Regions from separate parts of the Homo sapiens genome. Here all the other regions are linked to region 1. Evidence: promoter capture Hi-C in human tissues and cell types (Jung and others, 2019). All regions are on one chromosome and are shown on one strand. The core of a region is centred on a gene start or on the middle of the fragment in contact, and the rest is flanking DNA. Distances in the headings are between cores, read along the strand shown.

Region 1 (4,520 bases), core at 1,038-3,537:
AGCAGGGGAAAGGGAAGTGGGGATGTTTAATGGGTACAAAAACACAGTTAGAATAAGATCTAGTAAGTGATAGCACAACAGGGTGACTACAGTCAACAATAATTGTATATTTTATAATAACTTAAAGAGTATAATTGGATAGTGTGTAACACAAAGGAAGGATAAATGCTTGCAGTGATGGATACCCCATTCATGCATTGTATGCCTGTATCCAAAGATTTCTTTCTTTTTTTTTTTTTTGAGATGGAGTCTCGCTCTGTCGCCCAAGCTGTAGTGCAGTGGCGCGATCTCGGCTCACTGCAACCTCTGCCTCCTGGGTTCAAGCGATTCTCCTGCCTCAGCCTCCCAAGTAGCTGGGATTACAGGTGCGCACCACCATGCCTGGCTAATTTTAGGGTTTCACCATGTTGGCCAGGCTGGTCTCCAACTTCTGACCTCAGGTGATCCACCCACCTCAGCCGGCCCAAAGTGCTGGGATTACAGGTGTCAGCCACCATGCCCAGCCCAAATATTTCATGTATCCCATTAAATATATACACCTACTATACCCACAAAAATTTTTTAAATGTTTAAATGTTTTAAAAAGACACAAAGAGAAATTGACCACATTGCTTAAATGTGATACCACAAGGGAAGCCCGCTGAAACTTTAAGATGACCCTGACTCCACATCAAGTGCTAACAGAGGAAATGGTTTGTATTTTACAACTAGGACTAAAAATAAGACCCATTTTAAGAGCACTTTCCCCTGGAGAAAACACACATATCTTGAATTTAAAGATACATATGCAAATGCCTCAGGCCCCAGGTGGTCTTTACGGAAGCAGTCCCTGATCAGATCTCTCATCCACAGCCCACGTGCTTCTGCATTACAGAGGTGGGAAGACATCTGCAACAAATTTGGCGGTGCTTCTGCACTTCTGCTGGAGAGAAGGGCAGAAAAAAACCTTTACAGATGCAAAACAAGAAGGCTTCTCATTAGGCATTTGGATTAAGAACTATTGCTCAAGAAGCCCTGAGCAAGGCCTACAAGTTCTGATCTCTCTAACCTCCTCTCCTATGACTGTCCCCCTTGTCCATGGGCCTCTGCCATGCTGGCTTCCTTGACGCTCCGCCAACCCTTCAGACACACTCCCACCTCACGACCTTCCCGGGGGCTGTTCCCTCTACCTGGACGACTCTTCTCTCAGACCTCTCGTATCTTCAAGTCTCGGCTCAAATGCCACCTTTGCGAGGAGGAAAAAGATTTCTTTTCTTTCCCATGATATTTATCACCTCCTACTACACCGTATAATTTACTTAATTATCTATAATTCACCCCGTTTCTCCTTTCCCCCTCAAATAAGCTCCAGGAATGCAGAGATCTCTGTCCTGTTCACTGATGTCTATCACAAGCACTTAGTGCCTGACACACAGTAGGAGCTCGAGAAGTATTTTCTGAATGAATGAACAAATTTCTTGACCTGAAGATTCAGAAGAGTAAGAAGTGGGTGGAAAGGATGATGGTGAGGGGATGAGGAGAAAGAAGCGACAGCGGAGAATTCCCAAGGGAGAGACAAGCAGAGACTGGCTGAGGCCAGGCCGACCCCCTTTTCTCCCCGCAGCGCTGACGGGAGGCGGACGTAGGTGCAGGGCATCCCGCCAGCCGCACCCGAGGCACTCAGACGCAGGCAGCGGAGGCCGGCGGGCTTCTGGGCTCACTGAGAAAGTCCAGAGGCAGGACGGACCCACGCGGGCTCCGAGCAGGCCCCGTTGGGGGCTCCGACCCACGGCCCTACCCCTCCCAGCAGTGCCCACAACCCCAGGTCCTCTCCAGAATCCCCAGGGGCGTTCCGGGCCGCAATCCCTTCTCGGCTCGGGCCCCTCCACCAGCCTCCAGCGCTCGGGCCCTGCGCTCAGGCACCTGCCTGCCTGCGCCGGGGTCCCCATTCCGGCCCGCGCGGAGGCCCCAGCGCGCTCCTGCGGCCTCAGCCCGCCTGGCTGCCCCGTCGCCCGGCACAAGGGCAGGAAGCGCTCCGCGGCGCTCCCCGCTGCAAGGAAGGGGCTCCCGGCGCCCCTCGCCCCGGCCGCCCCTGCCCGACGCCCCGCCTGCGCGGCGCCCCCTCACCTCAGGGCGTACGTACGACACGAAGGAGGGCTTGGGGGCCTTGGTGCCGCCGCCACCGCCGACTACTCCTTTCCCCAGCATACCGCCGCCCTGGGAAGCAGCGACGCGCGGACGCAGAGGCGGCGGCTCGGGCTCCAGCTGGGGCAGCAGCGGCGGCCACCAGCACTAGCGGCTGGGGCTCCGCCCATCCCCAAGGCCGCGACCGCCGCGATGCCGCCCGCATCCGGCTCCGCCGCTGACACCGCTCGCCCCGCCCAGGCCCGTGGGCCCCGCCCATCCCGTGCGCGGGCCCAGAGAGCCGGGAGACCGCAACTGGAGGCCACGCCCCCCCATCACGTCAGGAGAGTTTGACCCGCCGAGATTCACCACCTTCCTGCGGCAGAGCCCGCCCTCATGCTTTCTCTGATTGGCCCGAGGCGCTGCCGGCCGAACCCCGCTCCCAACCCATTCTTGAGTGCACTTGGAGAGATGTTTCCTCCAACCAATCCAGAGAGCGTTCTCTCCGGACTTTCCAACGATTGGATGGCGAGGATAAAACCGTCGTCCAATGATCCTGCAGTCACCAAGTTGTCGTTAGCAGGGGTTCACGGCAGTCGTTTTCTTCCGTTTGCTTGTGTCTTTGGAATAAAACGTCCAAAAATGGGATGTATGGAATCTTGCTATAGGAGTTCCCAACTTACAGCGATGACGTTCAAGGTTTTTTATTTTATTATTATTTACTTTTGAGACGGAGTTTTGCTCTTGTCGCCCAGGCTGGAGTGCAATGGCGCGATCTCTGCTCATTGCAACCTCCGTCTCCCAGGTTCAAGCGATTCTCTTGCCTCAGCCTCCTGAGTAGCTGGGATTACAGGCGCCCGCCACTATATCCAGCTAATTTTGTGTGTGTGTGTGTGTGTGTGTGTGTGTGTCGTTCTGTCGCCCAGGCTTGAGTGCAATGGCGTAGTATAGGCTCACTGCAACCTCTGCCTCCCAGGTTCAAGCGATTCTCCTGCCTCAGCCTCCCGAGTAGCTGGGATTATAGGCGCCTGCCATCACACCCGGCTAATTTTTGTATTTTTAGTAGAGACGGGGTTTCACCATGTTGGCCAGGCTAGTCTCAAACCCCTAACCTCGTGATCCGCCCGCCTCAGCCTCCCAAAGTGTTGGGATTAGAGGCATGAGCCACCGCGCCATGCCGCTAATTTTTGTATTTTTAATGGAGACGGGGGTTTCACCATGTTGGCCAGGCTGGTCTCAAACTCCTGACTTCAGATGATCCACCCGCTTCGGCCTCCCGAAGTGCTGGGATTACAGGCGTGAGCCACCGCGCCCGACCTCAAGGTTTATTATTTTAAATGTAAACAAAAATGAGACAAACGATGACTCACGCCTCTAATCCCAGCACTTTGGGAGGCCGAGGCGGGTGGATCATCTGAAGTCAGGAGTTTGAGACCAGCCTGGCCAACATGGAGAAACCCTATCTCTACTAAAAATACAAAAATTAGCCTGGTGTGGTGGCGGGCGCCTGTAATCCCAGCTACTCGGGAGGCTGAGGCACGAGAATCGCTTGAACCAAGGTTGCAGTGAGCCAGGATCGCGCCACTGCACTCCAGCCTGGGTGGCAGAGCAAGACTGTGTCTCAAACAGAAAAAAAAAAGTGTCAAATCAAGTGTTAACAAGGCAGTGAGGAATAAGTTTGAGCGTTTGATAATAAAAGACTTTGTCAACTTCATTTTTCCAAACCTTTCCCTTCTTTGTGTTTCCAACAGGAAGAATATCAAGAGCCCTTAAGAGACTTCTATTTACTCTACGAAGTTATTGATAAAACCCTCATTTTTTAGTCAAGATTGCAAAGAAAATTCATTTCAGTTCTACATTTGGTGCCAAGCGTTGTTAGTTGCAGATAAATAAGATAGAATCCAGCTCTTAAGAAATTCAATCTAGTGGAAAAAAACATAAATATTTGCAGTTAATTTTTTAGGCGTCAGGCACTGTGCTAAGTACTCTCATTGGTGACCTTGATTTTTACCCTCTTAATCTCCATGTGCTCCCCCTTCCCAAATACACTCCAAGTAAATATAAAATCTTAGTGAAAACAAATGTGCTTGCTTTTGCAAACATAGTTTCAACGCAAGTCCTGCAGCTCCGTTTCCAGCTAGATTGCCACCTGTAAGCCAATATTTGGTATAGCTGTGCTGCAGCCGCCTCTGAGTTTCCTTATCCCAGTTTCCAGGTGACAAAACAGAGATGCAAGTAATTTGCCCAGGTCTCACAACTAGTCACTGAGAGAGCTGGGATTTCAACCCGGGTTTGTCTCATTCGAAATCCCAAGTTCTTAACATTATAATTATACAAATTAGAAAGGAGCACAATGAAAGTGTGGTCAATTCTATTTGGGGAGTCCAAGTTGAGGCCATCCTTACAAGGTTGAGAAG
Region 2 (4,520 bases), core at 1,284-3,783, 730 kb before region 1:
AGAAGGAGAAGGAGAAGGAGAAGGAGAAGGAGAAGGAGGAGAAGGAGAAGGAGGAGGAGAAAGAGAAGAAGGAGAGAGAAAGAAAGGAAGAAAGGAAGGAAGGAGAAAGGAAGAGAGAGAGAGAAAGAGAGAAAGAAGGAAAGAAAGAAAAGAAAGAAAGAAAAGGAAGGGAGGAAGGAAGGAAGAAAGAAAGAAAGAAAGAAAGAAAGAAAGAAAGAAAGAAAGAAAGAAAGAAAGAAAGAAAGGTGGGAGGGAGGCAGGGAGGGAGGGAGGGAGGGAGGGGAAGGGAAGGGAAAATAGAGTGTTGAAAGGAGCAATACATGAAAAGGAAGGATAATACATTGTGACTAAGTGGGGTTTACTTTAGGGATGCAAAGTTGCTTTAACACTTGAAAATCAATTGTTGCTATTTGTCACACTAACAGAATAAAGGAGAAAAATCATATGATCATCTCAATAAATGCAACAAAATGCCTGTGACAAAATTCAATAATAGCCATCATGATTTAAAAATGAAAATCTCTTAGTAAACTAAGACCAGAAGGGAACTTCTTGATAAAAGTCATCTAGGAAAAAACCTAAAGATAATAGCATACTTAATGGTGAAATATTGACTACCTTTCCCTTATGGCTGTGAACAAAGCAAGAATGTTCACTTTCCCCACCGTTATTCAATATTATACTGGAGGTCTTACCAGTGTAAAAAGGTAAGAAAAATAAAGTCATACATATTGGAAAGGAATAAATAAAACCATTACCATTTTTTTCTTTTCTTTTTTTAATTTTCCAAAGGGCCAGGTAGGCATTACCTTTTTTTTTTTTTTTTTTTTTTTTTTTTTTTGAGACGGAGTTTCGTTATGTCGCCCAGGCTGGAGTGCAATGGCTCGATCTCGGCTCACTGCAAGCTCCGCCTCCCGGGTTCACGCCATTCTCCTGCCTCAACCTCCGGAGTAGCTGGGACTACAGGCGCCCACCACCACGCCTGGCTAATTTTTTTGTATTTTTTAGTAGAGATGGGGTTTCACCGTGTTAGCCAGGATGGTCTCGATCTCCTGAGCTTGTGATCCACCCGCTTCAGCCTCCCAAAAGTGCTGGGATTACAGGTGTAAGCCACCACGCCCAGCCGGCATTACCATTTTTAAAAGCATTAAAATTTACGAAATACTTAGGAAAAACTTTAACAAAAGACATGTAAAACCTCTACAATGAAAACTATATAACACATACTGCCAAGACTTAAGCTAGCAATTTAATGACTGCTATTTATTAAAATACTTTAATAATTTTAATTATTAAATATTTAATTAAATTATTTTAAATAATTATTGTTATACTTATTGTTAATTACTAAATTTATTAATTAAAATTATTAAATTTTAATTAATACATAACTTTAAGGAGGTTCTTGGAGGTAATGTTTTCATGAAGGCTTCCTCAAACTGGAGAAAAGCCTTACATAGGTCCTGGAAAGACTCTCTTTACTACTATCAGCACTATTAACAGTTGCTAAAGCATTTTTATAACAGAAATAATTGAATACTCAATTATTATTAATAGTTGAATATTCTAAAATGATTCAATTACTTTGAATAATTCAATTCTCTTTTTTCTCATTCTACCTAGATAATACTGATGTCCCCTTACCATAGCCCCTTATATATGACATTCCAGAAAAGGCAGGGCAGCACTATTGAAAATCCAAGCGCTTTTTCTGGCTGATTTTCCATTGAAGTTAGATGGGCATACACTGCCTACATTCACAGAAAAGAGAAGGACAGTGTTTATCATCCTCACTCTGAAGGCCACTTCAGGAGCAACCCATTCAAATCTCCTGGGTATGGAGGGTCACTCTTGCTCTTGCTGGCCAATGACCAATATATGCAGGGTGTTCACCTGCTACTGTGATGAAGAGGTACAGGTAAAAAACAGACCCCCGTTATCTTCCTCTTTTCTCCTTCTTTATCCCCTTCAGAGGTCCCTATTTTTCCATTTTTGTGAGCTTCATTCTAACTAGTTTGCAGATAAAACCATTTTGCCCAGTAAACAAACAAACAAACAAACAAAACCTTCTACTTGTATGTTTCGTGTACTATCAAGCAGTATTTGGGCTTACACCTGTCTTTGTCAACTTGAATTAATTTAAGATCAACATTTTTTAATATTTAGTTTGGGTTTTTCTAGCTAAGATTAGTAAAGAAAGCATAAATAAAAATTCACTGTGGGGATTTTTAAACCCTTGGTTAATTTTACAGGCATTGGCAGAAGCAATGTTTCTCTTCCTGTTCATCGATTCCAAGTTACAAATAGGGACAGAGAAACAGTTTAATGTCTTTCCCATTTAACTGAAACTTAAAAAGTAGCATATTTGCCTCCAGAAAAAACTAATGGACTCTATGATAGGCAAAAAATGTCTTTTCCCCAAAGAGGGCCTCATCCAAATCTCCAAAACCTGTGAATAGGTTATGTTATAGGGCAAGGGAGAATTAAGTTTGCAGATGCAACTAAGAAATCCACTGACGACCAGGTGCAGTGGCTTATGCCTATAATCCCAGCACTCTGGGAGGCCAAGGAGGGAGGATTGCTTGAGCTCAGGAGTTTGAGACCAACCTGGCAACACAGCAAGACCCCCATCTCTGTTAAAAGAAAAAAAATCCACTGACTTTGAGATGGGGAGAGTAGCCTGGATCATCCAGGTGGGCCCAGAGGTAGCGTCAGAGGGGGTGCATCATGGAAAAGACTCAGCAGTCATCACTGGCTCTGAAGACAGTAGGGGACTGCCCGCCAAAGAATTCAGGCAGCCTCTAGATGGTAGAAAGGGGAAAGACATGGATCCTCCTCTACGGCCTTTAGAAGGAACAGAGCCCTGCTGACACCTTGATTTTAGAGACCCATTATGAACATATGACCCTAGAATTGTAAAGTAATAAACTTGTATTGCATTAAACCACCAAGTTAGTGATAATTTTTTACAGCAGCAATAGGAAACTAATACAGAATCTTTGTTCCTTAACAGGTGCATGCCACCACACCTGGCTAATATATTTTAAGTTCTAATCTTTAATTGTGGGAATATCTTCTTTTAATTAGGGAATTTCAAGTTTAAAAGAGTAAAGCACTGTCCTGCTTTCTGTTTCTATGGATTTGCCTGTCTGGACATCCCATAAGTGGAATCATACCAGAAAAAAAAAAAGTATTCTTTTTTCTTTGCTAAATAACGTAATTAAATAGTTTGGACACCAGGTGGCCCTAGACTACCAGATTTATCAAAGGAGCGCTTTTCAGTTTTATGATCTTAACATATTACTATAAAGGCAATGATGCAATTTTCTTTTAATAAGAAGAATGTTAAAAAACATCCCATTACATATGCATCTAAGTTTTTTGACTATTGTTGGTCAGTCACTTAAATTAGTCTTGACAAATCTTTAAGTTGGTTTCTGACAATTGTTGTGTGTGTGTGTGTGTGTTTTTAATCTAGAAAGATGAACTAAAACTGAATAGGTGTCACTAGAATATGACACAAGGGTAAGAACTTTTTTGGTTCCCAGTGCCTTGAATGCTGACAGCATCCCATAGCCTGCACCCGATAAATAACAGTTGAATGAAAGAATAGCTCATGTCCAGTTTGCACATATAAATTTGTTTCTGAATAATCTGGAACTTGAAGAACATCCTTTTGTCCAAGAATTTTTAATTTAGCACTATTCATAGAGCACTCATTTCTTTAAATGTGCTTGCAATGCATTCTCTTTTATGCTAGAAATGAACAGCCATTCCTCATTACATGATTACGTGCAGTCCGCCCTGCCCCCGACCCAGGTGTTTCCAGTTCTAACCCAACACCCCTAGGCTTCCTACTCTCCTCCCAGTGTCTGTGAGTGATCTTGGGGGAGAGTGTGGTCAGGTCCACAGTGGACCAGAAGTCACCCACCTCCCTGGATGCAGGGGCTTGCACAGTACCTACCTGTGCCCTGGGGTACTTTGTGCCCCTCTGCATTAAGCCCTCTCCTGTTGCCTGTCACGCCCTCCAAGCCAAAGTGAAAAAGTGTCCGCTTCAGAGACTTCTTCCCAGTTGCAGGGATGGAAAAATAATTTTCTCTCTACCCTTAATAGGTCTTAATTGGGACTACCTCTAACAAAAGAGAGATTAACATGAGAAAAACAAACAGTTTATTACCGTATATGCCTCATGTATATTTGGGAGGAAACTCTGAGAAATGTGTCAATATTTAGAGTGGATCTCAAAAGAAGCATTTAAACTTCAAGCTTAAATATCATCATTCCGGGAAAAAAAGAAAGAAGGGTTTGGGGAAAGGTCTGGAAAACACCATAAAACGAAGGTAAGGTTTTTTGTGCAGATTTAAATGTAAGCCTTCTCCATTGGTTATGAGTCTCTACTGATTTACTCTTCCTTTTTCCCTGGTGCAGAGAGAGACACTGTTACAAATGGAGACTGCCTTTAAAGATGTAAATTTTTTTTTTAAAGGGTAACTTTTCAGAAATACTCCTGTGTCTGCACT
Region 3 (4,520 bases), core at 1,340-3,839, 710 kb before region 1:
TTTTAGTAGAGACAGGGTTTCATCATGTTAGCCAGGATGGTCTCGATCTCCTGACCTCGTGAACCACCTGCCTCAGCCTCCCAAAGTGCTGGGATTACAGGCGTGAGCCACATGCCCAGCCTGGCTTTACTTTGTAACACTAAATGTGAACCAACTGAAATAAATCAGAAAATCTAGGATTATAAGTGTGAATGTTTAATTCAAATTCTCTAGCAAATTGTGCTCACTTCGGCAGCACATATACAAATTCTCTAGCAAATTAACCAGGCATCGTGGTGCATGCCTGTAATCCCAGCTACTTGGTAGGTTGAGGTGGGAGGATCATTTGAGCCCAGGAGGTGGAGGTTGCAGTGAAGCGAGATTACACCACTGCACTCCAGCCTGAGTGACACAGCAAGACCCTGTCTCAAAAACAAAACAAATTCTCTAGCAAATCCAGTAGCGGTCCTGAAGAGGATCCAGGAATTCTTTAAACCAAGGCAGATTCTCCTCTACTAGACATAGGGTATTCCCAAAATGGAGTCAGAACAGCAGAAGGAGGAGGCAGAGGTGAAGGAAGGAAGGAAGGGAGGAAGGGAGGAAAGGAGGAAAGGAGGAAAGGAAGAGGGAAGGAGGGAGGGAGGGGTGAGGAGAGAGGGAAGGTAAGTCCAAACAAAGAAGTTTTGACAAAAGAGAAAGAAGAGCTGAAGAAGGAGAAATTTCAGCAGTCTTTTTCAATTTAAAAATTGTTTTAGGGCCGGGTGCGGTGGCTCACGCCTATAATCCCAGCACTTTGGGAGGCCGAGGCGGGCTGATCACAAGGTCAGGAGATCGAGACTATCCTGGCTAACACGGTGAAACCCCATCTCTACTAAAAAATACAAAAAATTTAGCCGGGCGCGGTGGCGGGCACCTGTAGTCCCAGCTACTTGGGAGGCTGAGGCAGGAGAATGGCGGGAACCCGGGAGGCAGAGTTTGTTTGCAGTGAGCAGAGATCACGCCACTGCACTCCAGTCTGGGCAACAGAGCGAGACTCCGTCTCAAAAAAAAAAAATTGTTTTAGGCACTTTTGTTTTCTTCTTGCAAAGAAATGATTTTATCAGAACCTCTTTTGAAGCTTCCAAGTACCACTGAAAATCAATCTGCCAGTTGCTTTATTTTATTTTAGTGCCAGCTTTTTCTAATTGAGTGTGCAAACTAGGTTAGGTACTTAAAAGTTACCCCCATTTGGCCATTATAATTTGGCTCATTTGGTCATTGTGAGTTATGTGAGACCATTTTTCTAAATATTTGCATATAAAAGTGCCATAAATATTAAAAATGAATCTAGCTGATGTTTCTAAGGGTGGATCTCTCCATAAGGAAGAAGACTCAGTTTTAGAAGTATGATTGCTCAGAATTTAGACTTTACTTTTGAATGACCAAAAAGACCTAGTGGGAGGTGTTTTGGATTGAGTGTGCTGATTGTGGGAATAGCTCTTCAAAGTATCACCCTGGAGTCAGTTCTTCTCGTTTATGTGTCTTGGTGGTCCCAAGAGACTTGAGTGCTTAAGGCACTAGGTGATCAACTTGTATGTGTGCTCACAGGATTAAGCAAAGTTCCCCATATATTCTTCTGAAGGGATTCCCTTTAGAACAGTTTATGTCATGAGCGATAAGCTCCAACACTCCCTCAAGACCTTACTCACTAAAGGTGCCTTTTGGCTGGGAAAGACAATGTCTCTTATCCTCAGGACTTATCTTGTCCTCATAGAGAGCCTTTTGTAATATTGTCACTCAAAAAAAAAAAAAAAAGCTTAGATTTGTCAATTGAACCAAGCTTCAGAATCTGACCAGCTCTAAAGTTTATAAAATTTTCGCTTAAGCCACAGAGATTCACTTCCTCTTTTCAGAGAGAAACTGTTTTCTCCCTAACCAAAATTTGGTACAAGAGAAAAGGTTGGAAAACTCCAAGCAGTAGTTCCAAATAAAACCTTAAGCTCAGAGAAAAGTGAAAATCACAAATCTGCAATTATCAGAATCTCTAGAGAATAACAAACCAAACTCCTACCTTGTTGTAGAACTTCAGTTCCAACCCCATTGAGTTAGGAATGTGTGTAATGCAAATAAAGTCTGCATCCTCAACCAATCCAGGAGAACTCAAACTTGAAAGGGGCCTTACCAGAGATTTGCATAGCCTGTGAAGTCAGGAAAATGAAAATCATTTGTGCTGGTACCAAGGCTCAAGTTGTTGACAAAGCGATGAGGATTGCTGAAGTTCTGCTTCAAGTCCCATCATGGTCGCCAAAATGTCAACCTTAAGTAATGAGATACAGAAAATATAAATTTGTACATAGTCTATTCAAACACAAGCCTTGAGGATGGCCGCACGGGAACCAGTGACTACAAACAAACAAGGTCAGAATTCCAAAGTGGAGAAGTTAAGGTTTCAGGCCAGGCGCGGTGGCTCAAGCCTGTAATCCCAGCACTTTGGGACGCCGAGGCGGGTGGATCATGAGGTCAAGAGATCGAGACCATCCTGTCCAACATGGTGAAAGCCCATCTCTACTAAAAATACAAAAATTAGCCTAGTGTGGTGGCATGCACTAGTAGTCCCAGCTACTTGGGAGGCTGAGGCAGGAGAATCACTTGAACCTGGGAGGTGGAGGTTGCAGTGAGCTAAGATCGCGCCACTGAACTCCATCCAGCCTGGCGACAGAGCAAGACTCTGTCTCAAAAAAAAAAAAAAAAAAAAAGTTAAGGTTTCACTTATATAGGCAGAAACAGAGAAATTTTAGCAGATTACAGCATTTTCCTTACAAGACCGTTCCGTATATGAGAGCAATTTGATTGGTTACAGATTGCTACATCCCAAGGAAGATTACTCTATTGCTCCATGAGGGAGGTAGTGATCTGAGGGGGTCTCATGTCTGAGGCCATTTGGTCTTCTTAATCATTTACAAGAAAACAAGGCAGAAGTTGCAGCTGCATGCTGCGTGACTCAGACTACATAGCCACCCTCCACTTGAAGCTCAGAATAATTCAAATGTCCAACAGCTTTAAGTTTGAATTATTTAATTTCACAGGAGGTACATTTTTTGAAGACTTGTATGTGTAAAAATGTCTCTTTTCTACCCTTTTACTTGATAGCAAATTTGGCTAAATATGTAATTCTTGGTTAAACAAAAAATAACTTTCCCTTGGAAATTTGAAGGTATATCTCCATTATCTTCTACCTTCTATTTCCATGAGAAGTTTGATGCCATTCTTATTCACAATCTTCTATTCATTAGTTTTCTGTCTCCACTCTATTTCTCCACTCCTACCAGAGCTTTTAGAGACTTCTGTTTATCCCTAGGGTTTGAAATTTTGTAATAATAAGTCCTTTGTTGTCACTGGTTTATGTTATTTGATGGGAATTTTTTTTTTTTTTTTTTTTTTGAGACGGCGTCTCACTCTGTCACCAAGGCTGGAGTGCAGTGGCATGAGGATGGCCCATGGCAGCTTCGATCTCTTGGGCTCAGGTGATTCGTCTACCTCAGCCTCCCGGGTAGCTGGGACTACAGGAATGTGCCACCACGCCTAGCTAAGTTTTTGTATTTTTTGTAGAGACAGGGTTTCACTATGTTGCCCAGGCTGGTCTCGAACTCCTGTGCTCAAGCAATCCTCCTGCCTTGGCTTCCCAAAGTGCTGGGATTACAGGCGTGAGCCATCGTGCCTGGCCTTGTGGGATATTTGTTTGTTTGTTCATTTGTCTTTTACTCATTGGGCTAGATACCAAAAAGTTCTTTTTGAGAAAAGGCTCATGTTCTTCAGCTCTGAAAAATTCTCTTACGTTATTTTATTAATACTTTTCTCCACCAGTCTTTTCTGTTCTCTTTCTGGCACTCCTATTAATTAGTTGTCAGGCTTCCTGGATTGAGCATCTAATTTCTTATGTTTTCTCTCTTATTGTCCAATTATTTGCCACTTTGCTCTGGTTTTGGATTCCCTAACTATACCCTCTACTTTACTATTGAGATTTTCATTTCTGCCGTCTAATTTTTATTTTCCTGATGTTTTTGTTGTTGTTATTTGAATACTCTTAAGTTCATTTATATTTGAGAATGGGACACAGAAAAGCTGAGAGCTGGCCGGGCGCGGTGGCTCACGCCTGTAATCCCAGCACTTTGGGAGGCCGAGGCGGGCGGATCACGAGGTTAGGAGATCAAGACCATCCTGGCTAACATGGTGAAGCCCTGTCTCTGCTAAAAATACAGAAGAATTGGCTGGGCTTGGTGGCGGGCGCCTGTGGTCCCGGCTACTCGGGAGGCTGAGGCGGGAGAGTGGCATGAACCCGGGAAGTGGAGCCGAGATCGTGCCACTGCACTCCAGCCTGGGCGACAGAGCAAGACTCTGTCTCAAAAAAAAAAAAAAAAAAAAAAAAAAAAAAAAGCTGAGAGCTGTGTTTGTGAACAAGTGTGTCGAGAGTGATCAGGTGTGGGCAATGACCATTATCTCAGGGAACTCCCAAAGGCCAAAATGTGGAGGTCTTTTCTCTATGACTATTTAATTTCTCTAGA

What was found. The method cuts DNA at HindIII sites, captures the fragments that hold promoters and counts their contacts. A contact is called where the count stands out against the background at its distance.
Region 2: a fragment that was not itself captured here is called in contact with the fragment with the promoter of MTMR12 in region 1 in 1 of the 25 tissues and cell types used here (dorsolateral prefrontal cortex).
Region 3: a contact is called between a fragment that was not itself captured here and the fragment with the promoter of MTMR12 in region 1, in 1 of the 25 tissues and cell types used here (dorsolateral prefrontal cortex).

The regions. Positions count from the first base shown.
Region 1 is chr5:32,310,652-32,315,171 of GRCh38, forward strand. MTMR12 (myotubularin related protein 12) reads right to left here and starts at 2,288. Exons shown (of 16, transcript NM_001040446.3): 1 at 2,107-2,288. The coding sequence starts at 2,187. RefSeq lists silencers at 1,617-1,756, 1,827-2,616 and an enhancer at 2,707-2,756. The HindIII fragment of the contact is 13,800 bases long and covers 1-4,520 here.
Region 2 is chr5:31,578,440-31,582,959 of GRCh38, forward strand. No RefSeq gene overlaps it. Among named protein-coding and RNA genes, the nearest start is that of C5orf22, 48 kb to the left of the region's middle. The HindIII fragment of the contact is 9,056 bases long and covers 1-4,520 here.
Region 3 is chr5:31,597,287-31,601,806 of GRCh38, forward strand. No RefSeq gene overlaps it. Among named protein-coding and RNA genes, the nearest start is that of PDZD2, 40 kb to the right of the region's middle. The HindIII fragment of the contact is 4,528 bases long and covers 326-4,520 here.